2 separate regions of the Homo sapiens genome follow, and region 1 is linked to region 2. Evidence: promoter capture Hi-C in 16 types of primary human blood cells and fetal thymus (Javierre and others, 2016). All regions are on one chromosome and are shown on one strand. Each heading gives the region's core, a stretch centred on a gene start or on the middle of the fragment in contact. The rest is flanking DNA. Distances are from core to core; before and after follow the strand shown.

Region 1 (5,532 bases), core at 233-2,732, 190 kb before region 2:
CTAAAGGGAGACTGCAAAGCCCATAGCCAAGGTACCCAGGCAGGGAGAGTTTCAGAAGGTGGAGCGGGAAGCGGGATGGGTCCCGGGCCGCTTTGCTAAATGAGTAGCAGTTAATTGGGCCTGTTAGGATCAGCAACTAGCTTGGGGCTATTCAGAGCTACTGACAGGGCCACCTTTGTCTCTGAACCAGGTCTTTATTGAACAATAAGGGTGCCGCCAGCCAGGGAGCAGTCCCTGCGGGTTCGCAGCAGGCCGCGGCACGTGGCCTGCTGAGCTCTCTGTGGATGGGATGATGGCGCCCTCCAGCGGGGAAGCGCAGCGTCGCCCGCTAGCTCAGGGCGGCATTCAGCAGGGACTCCCGCAGAGAAACTTTATTTCCCTTAGTCCCCATTATCAAGTTGTTTCTTTAACTAAAAATTACAAATTGATAAAACTAAGGGTTATATTTTGCTTTCAGACAGTGAAGGGAATATTTTAAAACTTCACTTCAGAAATGATCTACCAGTGTTGTTTTAAAGGTTAATAAGAGTGAAGTTTGGAAAATAAAACTTAGAAAACTCATCTCTGGGAAGTTTAAAAATTTTCCTCCTGCTTTTGATAGTTGAGAAGAAAATGTGTGCATTTCTGTGTCAGATCCTTAACCTTTTTATTTCTTCTTATTTATGTATTTATTTATTTTGAGACATAGTTTCCCTCTTGTCGCCCAGGCTGGAGTGCAATGGGGAGCTCTCGGCTCACTGCAACCTCCACCTCCCGGGTTCAAGTGATTCTCCTGCCTCAGCCTCCCAAGTAGCTGGGATTACAGGCGCGCCCCACCATTCCTGGCTAATTTTTGTATTTTTATTCAACACGGGGTTTCACCATGTTGGCGCCAGGCTGGTCTTGAACTCCTGACCTCGAGTGATCCACTCTCCTTGGCCTCCCAAAGTGCTGGGATTACAGGCCTGAGCCACCACGCCCTGCCTAAGCTTTATCTTTAATACTTATACAGACATGTAATTTCTTAAGTGGGTTCATTATTACTTTTTGCTCACTTTTCTTGTCACATCTGCACCTCTTTTTTGCATCTTACTACTACCTTAGAACCACCATGAAATTAGAGTAAAGTCTCGCTATTAAAGGAGCAGAAACAGTATTCTATACTTTTGTTATCTATTGGTAACATATTGATTAAATCGTATAGGCTTTTTTTTTTAGTAGAAAATACAGATAATCAATGTAAATGTTAAAACTACATAATCCTAACACCCAGAGGCACTACTTCATTGTGCTTATCTTAAGAAGTGAATTGATAATAGTAATATAAATTTTGGAGGACTGTTATCTAAAAACAGGAAAAAATACTTTTATCAACTAATACAAATGAAGAGATTCTTATAATTCTAATTGTAGTCAGTGAGACCTGTCTCTGTATAAAACATTTTCTAATGTTTAGAGATTAAGTCCTTCTGAGTAAAAGAAAAAGTAGAACGAGAACAATATGGAAGGCAAAAACCTCCCTTAAAACATAGCCATGCATTTCAGAGTTAATACAGTAATTACAATAAATTCAAGTTTCTGCAAATTTTGCTTTGATAGCAACAAAATAATAAATATTCTCTAACATTCCATTTCTAACAGTGTGGGCAAATGCAGAACACTAAAAAAAAAATTCTTGAAGATAATAATTTTGCCATCAGCACATGCCCTCAGTTACACAGTGTAACTCATTTTATAATATGCCTATTTCTCTAGAGGTCATGTATGAAGAAATCTCAACATTCCAGAACATAGTCTCTGAAACTAAAAACAAAAGTTGTTAAACAACAACTATCTGCCAAAAAGTCCATTTGCGTTACTTGATAAGAGAAATGGTGCCAGCCTTAGACCATTACCTAGATGATGATGAGTAGAATGACAGAAGATTCCAGCAGAAATAGAAAAACCTTTACAACATTCATCCTAATCTATTCCAAGTCATCAAAACAACAGTTCATGGTAATTAACACAAGCTTCACTGGCCCACCTAAAAATTATAGTAATATTCATAATGACACCATTGAGTCAGCAGGCAAAATATGTCTGAAGTACTCTAGTTAAAAAAATTAACAAAACCTATGATGCAATTTGAAGATGTTCATAAATGCATTAAAATGGCATTTTTGACATAAAAGATAAACTTACATGGGTCGCCCCCACAGAATAAAGGCAATTCTGCTATGGTGAAACTATTTTAATTAGCTCAGTCAACAAGTACTTGAGTACTTCCTACGTGGCACTAGGTGCCAGGTACTGGGATACAGCAGCAAATAAAACAGATGAAAACCCCTGTCCACAAGGAACTTATATTTCAGTGGAATGTACAAAACAGTAAGGGTGGTGTCTATTTATTTTTCCTTGTGTTGTGAAAACTCAGAGGTCTTTAAATCAGTGATTTTACTCTCACCTGATAGATGTAAAATAAGCACAAATGGAAGAGTTCTTAATCCTTTGTTTTAAAATCAAATTTTGACCGGTCTCTTTTAAAATACAATGCTAGAGGCAGTAAACAAATACTTCTTCATCAAAAATTCATAACTCTTCATCAAAAATTCAGAATATAAAAAAATTCAAAAGCTAGAGATTTTTCTCTAAGTTTAGAAATTGAGGTCCCTTTTTTTTGAAAAAGCACAGACAGCATTGTATTGGAATGGTGAGATTATGGGTATTTTTCTGGTTTACTTTCCAATTTTTCTGTAATGCTATGCATATTCAAAAATGAAGAAAAAGAATGGACTTTTAAAGAATGCTTGTTCTTTAAACACTACCAAGATAGTTAACTCATAACTTCTACCTAAAGAAATGAGTTCCACGTTATGAAAAGTTAAAGAGAAAATGGTAGACATGGCCACATAAACACATGTAAATGACCTGCACACCTAATGCCTATCTTTGTTACTCTTTCCCTGGACTTAACAAACAAAGCTCACAGGGTATTTTGAAACTCACGATTTTATCACTGCATTTTTGTTTAATACATGTTTTTATCTTCATTATATTTTCTTTCTCATTTTCTAGAATATAGCTGATTTTTTAGTTAGGGCAAGGGTGACAGTCTAGGGGGGATTTCAGTTGTACAAATATATACAGGAAAGTTTGAGTGTTTTTACTTCAACAGAAAAGAAGAAGAGAAACATTATTTGGAAAATTTAATCTATGTGTATAGAAAATTCAAATTCTCAAACTCTGTCTCTTGCTCTGTCTCTTCTTTCTTCATTGTTTTTTTAGCAGCATAATTGTGTCTTTTCAGACAATTGCTGAAACTACTAAATATTTAGCAAGTATAACTTTGCCAAGAAGGAATTTGAGGCTATGTAAAACATCAAGATTCCGGGGAAAACGAATAAAAATTTTAAAAAGATAAAAGTAAATTTAAAAGTGAGCACAGACATAGTCACTATGTGCTTCAGTCCGTTCAGATAACCATGTTTAATACATGTTTTTATCTTCATTATATTTTCTTTCTCATTTTCTAGAATATAACTGATTTTTTAGTTAGGGCAAGGGTGACAGTCCAGGGGGGATTTCAGTTGTACAAATATATACAGGAAAGTTTGGGTGTTTTTACTTCAACAGAAAAGAAGAGAAACATTATTTGCAAAATTTAATCTGTGTGTATAGAAAATTCAAATTCTCAAACTCTGTCTGTTGCTGTCTCTTCTTTCTTCCTTGTTTTTTTAGCAGCATAATTGTGTCTTTTCAGACAGTTGCTGAAACTACTAAATATTTAGCAAGTATAACTTTGCCAAGAAGGAATTTGAGGCTATGTAAAACATCAAGATTTCCGGGAAAACTAATAAAAATTTTAAAAAGATAAAAGTAAATTTAAAAGCGAGCACAGACATAGTCACTATGTGCTTCAGTCCGTTCAGGCCGCCATAACACAACACCGTGAACTGGGTGGCTTCTAAGCAGAAATGCGATTTTCGCTGGCGCCCTGCGCAGCCGGCTCCCAGGTGGCGGCGCCGAGGGCTGGAGGCGGCGGCTCCGGAGGCCGCAGGACATGGCGGAGCTGCGCTGAGGTCGGGAGCCCTGGCTGGAGGCCGCGTGGCGCCGTGGGTCCCGGGCCTAGCGGGAGGCCTGTCCCGCGGGGACACAGTGCGAGTCGAGCTGCTCCGCCGCTGCCGCTGAGCTTCCCGGCCGCCACCGGGCTCGGACGTCCCAGTAGAAAGATGGTTCCCGCCCTGAAGAAGCTGGTGGGGTCGGAGCAGGCCCCGGCGGGGACAAGAACATCCCCTGCGTGCTGCAGGCCAGGAGCTGAGGCCACGGAGGCGCTTCGCCGTGGCGTGAAAACATGAAGATGGCTATCCGGGAGACGGGGCCACCCGCCCCACCGCGCTGAGGCACGGTCCGCAGGGCAAGCATTTGGTGGAGGTGGATATCCCCACGCAGGGATCCAGGCCACAGCATCTACGGGAACCACCCCACCACTGAAGACGTCGTGAGAGTTGAAGTCTCGGAGGTAGTGGAGGGTGGAAAATGCAAACAGCCAGACCGGGGCTTGCAGGTGGAGAACAACCCAAGGAGGCGGAGTCCAAAATGGACCTGGATGCAAGTTCCTGGACGTGCCCAAGAACTGCCACCGGCTGGCCAGGTGATCCCCATCACCAAGCAGTGCGCCTTCAAGTGCATTCTCTGGGGCTTCAGAAAGTGCTGCCCACGCGCAGGTGTGCGTCCTGGGGACTGCGGGACAGGAGCCAGTGGGAGTCATCCTGCTGAGGCCGCTCCTCCTGTTCCCCTCCGCCGAGTCTTCCAGGAAGAACAGCTCGGGCCTAAAGCACCTTCACGAATTTTTCAATATTCCATTTTTGCAGCTTCAGAGGGAGAAAAAGCAGTTGGAGGTGGACTCCACGCTGGAGGAGCGGTGGTGCAGCAGGAGACTGAGGACCAGAAGCATTGCACTTTCCTCCACGTGGGGGCTCCCAGCCGCAGCTCCGCGTCCCCGCTGGCGGCCAACAGGCAAAGCCGGTCCTTGGCCTCCCAGGAGCCAGTGACGCTTCTGAGCGCAGTGTCCACCCGGAGCTCCAGACCCCCTCACCCCGCCCGCCCCCACAGCGGCCCCTCAATGCCCCATCAGCCTGTCCCCCGTCCGCCACCGTCCTCTTCGTCCTCAACATCCCAGGGTCGGAGACCCTGCCGGCTCCCACATGCCGCTGGGGCCCGTCTGGTCACCCCGCCCCACCGCGCAGCGTCACCTCCAGGCTGTCTGGGACATCACGCGGCCAATGCAGCCCCTTCACCTCCAGAGCTGGCCCCGGCTGCAGAAGCCTCAGCAAAAGTCCAGAATGTGGAGGACTTGGTTCCCAGCACCCACCTGGACTCCATATTCCTGGCAGAAACGGCCACACACCCACCCCCAGGGACACAAAGATAGTGGAAGCCAAGGCCACAGCGGAACAGCCACAATCTGGGGAGGCCCTGGGCGAGAGCCACACCCCCAGAAACCCTGGCAGTTCTCCAGGACGACATGGGCCTCAGAGCCCAGCACCACAGGAAGCCCCTGCCACCCTCGGT
Region 2 (4,873 bases), core at 228-2,727:
ATAGCATGAGGCTGTGTGGCTAAAGGAACTTTCGTGTCCAGAAGTAAGCAAAAACCACTGAAATTTACTGGTCCTGAAAACAGCCTGCACATTAAGGAATAAAGATGGTGGGGCAGGTTGGGCAGAAGAAATTCAGGCACGACTGAAATGCAAAGCATTTCTGACACTGATAGGAAGGCTTATTGATAGAGAAAGGCTTGGGACCCACTGCTCCACATTTACAGCTTAAAAAGAAAAGAAAAGCAAAGGGACAAAACTAGTTTTTACCGACTTACAAGATATTTTCTACAACTAGGGAAGACACAGAGTAATGTCATCCAATACAGTTTAGAGTAGAATTCCATTGCGCCAATAAAGCACAAGGTACATTAAGAGGATTATTTTAAATATTCTGAACGCTTATTTAGCCTTAAGGTTCTATAGCAAAGGCAAAGGGTGGCAAAGACAAGATTATGCAACAAAACAGCGAAATTTTGCTTTCTAAAAAAAAGAGAATATGATTACACTTAACACCTCCTGGCAACAATGATCTCGTGCAGAATAAACACCCAAAGGCAAAGAGCTGAGACAGAGTCCTCGGTCCTTTCTGGTTTTTTTGTTTTTTGTTTTGTTTTGGTTTGGTTTGGTTTTTGTTTTTTTAAACAGAGACAGCCTCTGCCGGACCCAGTAGCTCACGCCTGTAATCCCAGCACTTTGGGAGGCAGAGGCGGGCGGATCACCTGAGGTCAGGCGTTCGAGACCAGCCTGACCAACATGGGGAAACCCCGTTTCTACTAAAAATACAAAAATTAGCCGGGCGTGGTGGCGGACGCCTGTAATCCCAGGAGCCAAGACCGCGCCACTACACTCCAGCCTGGGCGACAGAGCGAGACTCCGTCTCAAATAATAATAATAATGATAAAGTAATAATAATAGAAACAGCCTCTCACTCTGGCCCCCAGGCTGAAGTGCAGTGGCGCGATTTCGGCTCACTGAAACCTCCGCCCCCGCCGGGTTCAAGCATTCTCCCGCCTCAGCCTCCGGAGTAGATAAGACTATAGGCGGCGCCACCGCGCCCGGCTAAGTGCTTTTTTACGGAGACAGAAGTTCCGCCATGTTGCCCAGGCTGCTCTCGCCTGAGCTCACGCGATCCTCCCGCCTCGGCCTCCCAAAGCGCTGGGATTACAGGCTGGAGCCACCTCGCCGGGCCCTTCTCTGGTTCTTTAACGTCCCGCTACCGCGCAGGGGTGGACGCGGAGATAGGGGCTGGGCGCGGTGGACACGGCCGCTCAGGCCCAGCGCAGCCTCCTAGGGAGCCTCCGGACAGGCCGCGGGCAGGCGGCCGGGGCTGCGGGGGGTGCGGCCCAGGCCACGTACAGGGTCCCCCGGGAAACCCAGCTGCACGCCCCCTCGCCCCTTCGCCCTCTCACCCCTCGCCGCAGCACCTACCTGCAGCCCAAGCCTCTGCGGCTCCTGCCACCCCGGGCCAGCACGCACTGGGCCTACTGCGCTTGCGCGTTCGGAAGCGCGTCCTGGGCGGGTGAGCGTGGCGCTGCTGCCCCCTGGCGTCCTCCTCCGGCCGTGCACTGAAGCCGGAGCGAACGCCGCGGCGGTACCAGCGCGCACCTACCCAGTCTCCCTGTCTGGCTTCTGCTTCCCTAACTTGGGAGAACGATTTTGTGTTGACCGACTATTGCTTCAGCCTGGAGCCAGGCTCATGCAGAGCAGCTGTCAGATCTAGACGCACTGCGAGGCCTTCCAAAGCGTAGTCCTCAGACCCGCGGCATCTGCAGGGACCTTGCTGGAAAGGCTGATTCCCAGCTCCGGCCCAGACCCGCCACTCGGGGACCCAGATGCCTGAAGTTGGACAATCGCTCTGTAAAAGAAACTGTGGGGCTTAGCCTAGACGCAGTAAAGCTGAGCTGCACACATCAAGCGCAGCAGACAAGACCTTGGCAAGCCTCCGCGGAGGGGCAGGACTGGGCAAAGGCGGGGAAGTCCGTCGAGGGCCGGCCAGGAGCCCTGCCGGGAGCCCAACACGCACTCGGGCGCTTGCTCCGGGAAACCGAAAGGGAGGCTTGCAGCATCGAAGTCAGCTGGGTCATGGAACGTCTAGGTTGTGTACATCGGAAGCGTTAGCTGCTTCTACACTGACACACTGCGAAAGTCCAGAATCAAGACAGTAACATGGTGTGGGTTAAAAAAACTGAGCCGGTACTAGCTATCCAAACAGTATTAAAATTAACAGAAACGTTTGCCTATCACATGGACAAACAGCGGTAATACCTCCTGTCGTTACAGTAGAGTCTGAAAGTTTCCTCACACATACAAGTGAGTGTAAATTGGAATTCCTCCTACGTGCCCTAGCAAATCCATTTCTAGGAATTTATCCTTCAGAAATAACGTCTGTGGCCGGGCGCCGTGGCTCATGCCTGTAATCCCAGGACTTTGGGAGGCCGAGGTGGGCGGATCACGAGGTCAGGAGACCGAGACCATCCTGGATAACACGGTGAAACCCCGTCTCTACTAAAAATACAAAAAATTAGCCGGGCATGGTGGCGGGCGTGAGAATGGCGTGAACCCGGGAGGCGGAGCTTGCAGTGAGCCGAGATCGCGCCACTGTACTCCAGCCTGGGTGACAGAGCGAGACTCCGTCTCAAAAAAAAAAAAAAAAAAAAAGAAAAAGAAATAATATGTCTGCAAGATGTATGCACAAGAGATCTTGCTGAAGCATTGCTGATAAAAGATATTTATAATAGAGAAAAAAAGAAACCTGAATGTATAACAATAGGGGTTTCTGAAAGAAATTATATTACATCCACATAGCCATGAAAAATACTAACGGGTGCACAGTTTCAGTGTGAGAAGATGGTAAAGTCCTGGAGATGGATGGGGGTGATGGTTGCACAACAGTGTGAATATACACCAATAAATTGGGTGGAGGCCGAGAGCTCGGGGCCGTGAGCAAGCCTCCAACGCTCCGGTCCCCCGGACCCGCCTTTTAAACTCTTATTCTAATTCCTTTGTCTTCGCTGGACTCGGGGTACCCGCCGGGTGGTGTGGGGCTGGTTTCCCCAACAACTTCACTCTAGCCTGGGCAAAAGAGCAAAGCTCCGTCTCAAACAAACAAAGATAGAAACCAACCAGCAGCTCTCCTTGCTGAGTTCTTTGCCACGTGGCCACCATTTTGTGCCCACAGGCTTTTTGGGGGTGCTGGGAAAAGGTGAAATTTTAACACTGATGAAAAATTAGAGGAATTAAATTCAAACAAAAAATTAAAAATAAAAAGAACAGCAGAATTTGACGCACCATCAAACTGGTTGTGTCACCCATCTTCAAGCTGAAGGTAGTCCAAAGCCTGGAACTGAGTGTCGGGGGCACACACAGAGACTCGGGAGAAACCCTCTGATTCTGGCTCGTGGAGCAGAAAAGGAAACTCCTAACCCTCAGAGGGAGTGAAGAAAATTCCCTGTTCTTTCTATTTTCTTCTTTTCTTTGCACTCCAGCCCCCAGTCAAGCCCAAGGCCAGAGCAAAAAGCTTCAGCAGCCAAAAGTCTGAGGGAAAGAGATAGTCCTTTCCATTCAGTAGCACTGCAGCTCCAAGAGGACAGACACAAACTTGGTGTTTTGTTGTTTTTAACTGTTTCCCACTGCTGTGGCACAATTGTGGAAGTGGGCAGCTCCCCCAAGCCAAACTGAAAGTGGGAAGTTTCAGACCAGCGCACTGAAACCTGAGGGAACCTAAAAACACTGAGAAGATAGCGGAAGGTGAGAGCATCTGGCAAGCAACCTCACAGAGTTGTTTTTGAACTCTTGGGCTCATCGCTGACCTGCGTATCATCGACTTAACGAGCACACCAAACACTCAGAGAACTGTGCTCATGAACAGATTTTTGTTCAGGTACCAAACTACGGGAGGATGCAGCCACGAGACAGATCCAAATAGCCCCACAGAGGGTATGAACACAGAACTCACTTTGGAACATGAACCCCAGAAGAAGATCGGAACCTGCAGGCTGTCCCTAACTAGTTCATGTGCTTGCTTAAATTAAACTGTTGGCCAGGCGCGGTAGCTCACACCTGTAATCCCAGCACTTAGGGAGGGCAGATCACCTGAGGTTAGGAGTTTGAGACCAGCCTGGTAAACATGGTGGAACCCGGTCTCTACTTAAAAAAAAAAAAAAAAAAAAAATAGCCGGGCATGGTGGCGGATGCCTGTAATCCCAACTGCCCGGAAGGTTGAGGCACAAGAATCACTTGAACCCAGGAGGCAGAGGTTTCAGTGAGCCCAGATCACAGCACTGCACTCTAGCCTGAGTGACAGAGCAAGACTCCTTCTCAAAAAAAAAAAATTAAAATGCCAACATTCTCCATAGGATTTAAACAAGAATTAGAGCCTCATAATATTCAAAATGCTCAGGATACAAAATTGCTAGGCATATGAACCATCACAAAAATCTCAACTTGCATGGGAAAAGATAATCAAGAGTCACCAACTATAAAATGACTGTTAGGATTATCTGAAAAAGACATTAGTTATGAAAATGCTCAAAAAATTATAAACATTCTTGAAACAAAAGTTAAAATAGAAAGTATGGGGCTGGGCACAGTGGCTCGCGCCTGTAATCCCAAGACTTTGAGAGGCTGAGGCAGGCGAATCACTTGAGATCAGGAGTTCGAGACCAGCCTGGCTAACATGGTGAAACCCTGTCTCTATTAAAAATACAAAAATTAGCCGGACATGGTGGCAGGTGCACTCAGGAGGCTGAGGCAGGAGAATCGCTTGTACCTGGGAGGTGGAGGTTGCAGTGAGCCGAGATCGTGCCATTGTACTCCAGCCTGGGCCACCGAGCGAGACTCTGTCTCAAACAAATAAAAAATAATAATTTTAAAA

The links. The method cuts DNA at HindIII sites, captures the fragments that hold promoters and counts their contacts. A CHiCAGO score of 5 or more calls a contact.
Region 1: a contact is called between a fragment that was not itself captured here and the fragment with the promoter of POMK in region 2, in 6 of 17 cell types (megakaryocytes, erythroblasts, endothelial precursors and 3 more). The highest score is 9.3, in megakaryocytes.

What each region holds. Positions count from the first base shown.
Region 1 is chr8:43,275,742-43,281,273 of GRCh38, reverse strand. No RefSeq gene overlaps it. Among named protein-coding and RNA genes, the nearest start is that of POTEA, 14 kb to the left of the region's middle. The HindIII fragment of the contact is 1,023 bases long and covers 971-1,993 here.
Region 2 is chr8:43,090,119-43,094,991 of GRCh38, reverse strand. It overlaps POMK (protein O-mannose kinase), which reads right to left and starts at 1,477. Exons shown (of 5, transcript NM_032237.5): 1 at 1,429-1,477. RefSeq lists a silencer at 1,240-1,449 and enhancers at 701-1,606, 1,607-2,513, 3,848-4,037. The HindIII fragment of the contact is 4,326 bases long and covers 1-3,519 here.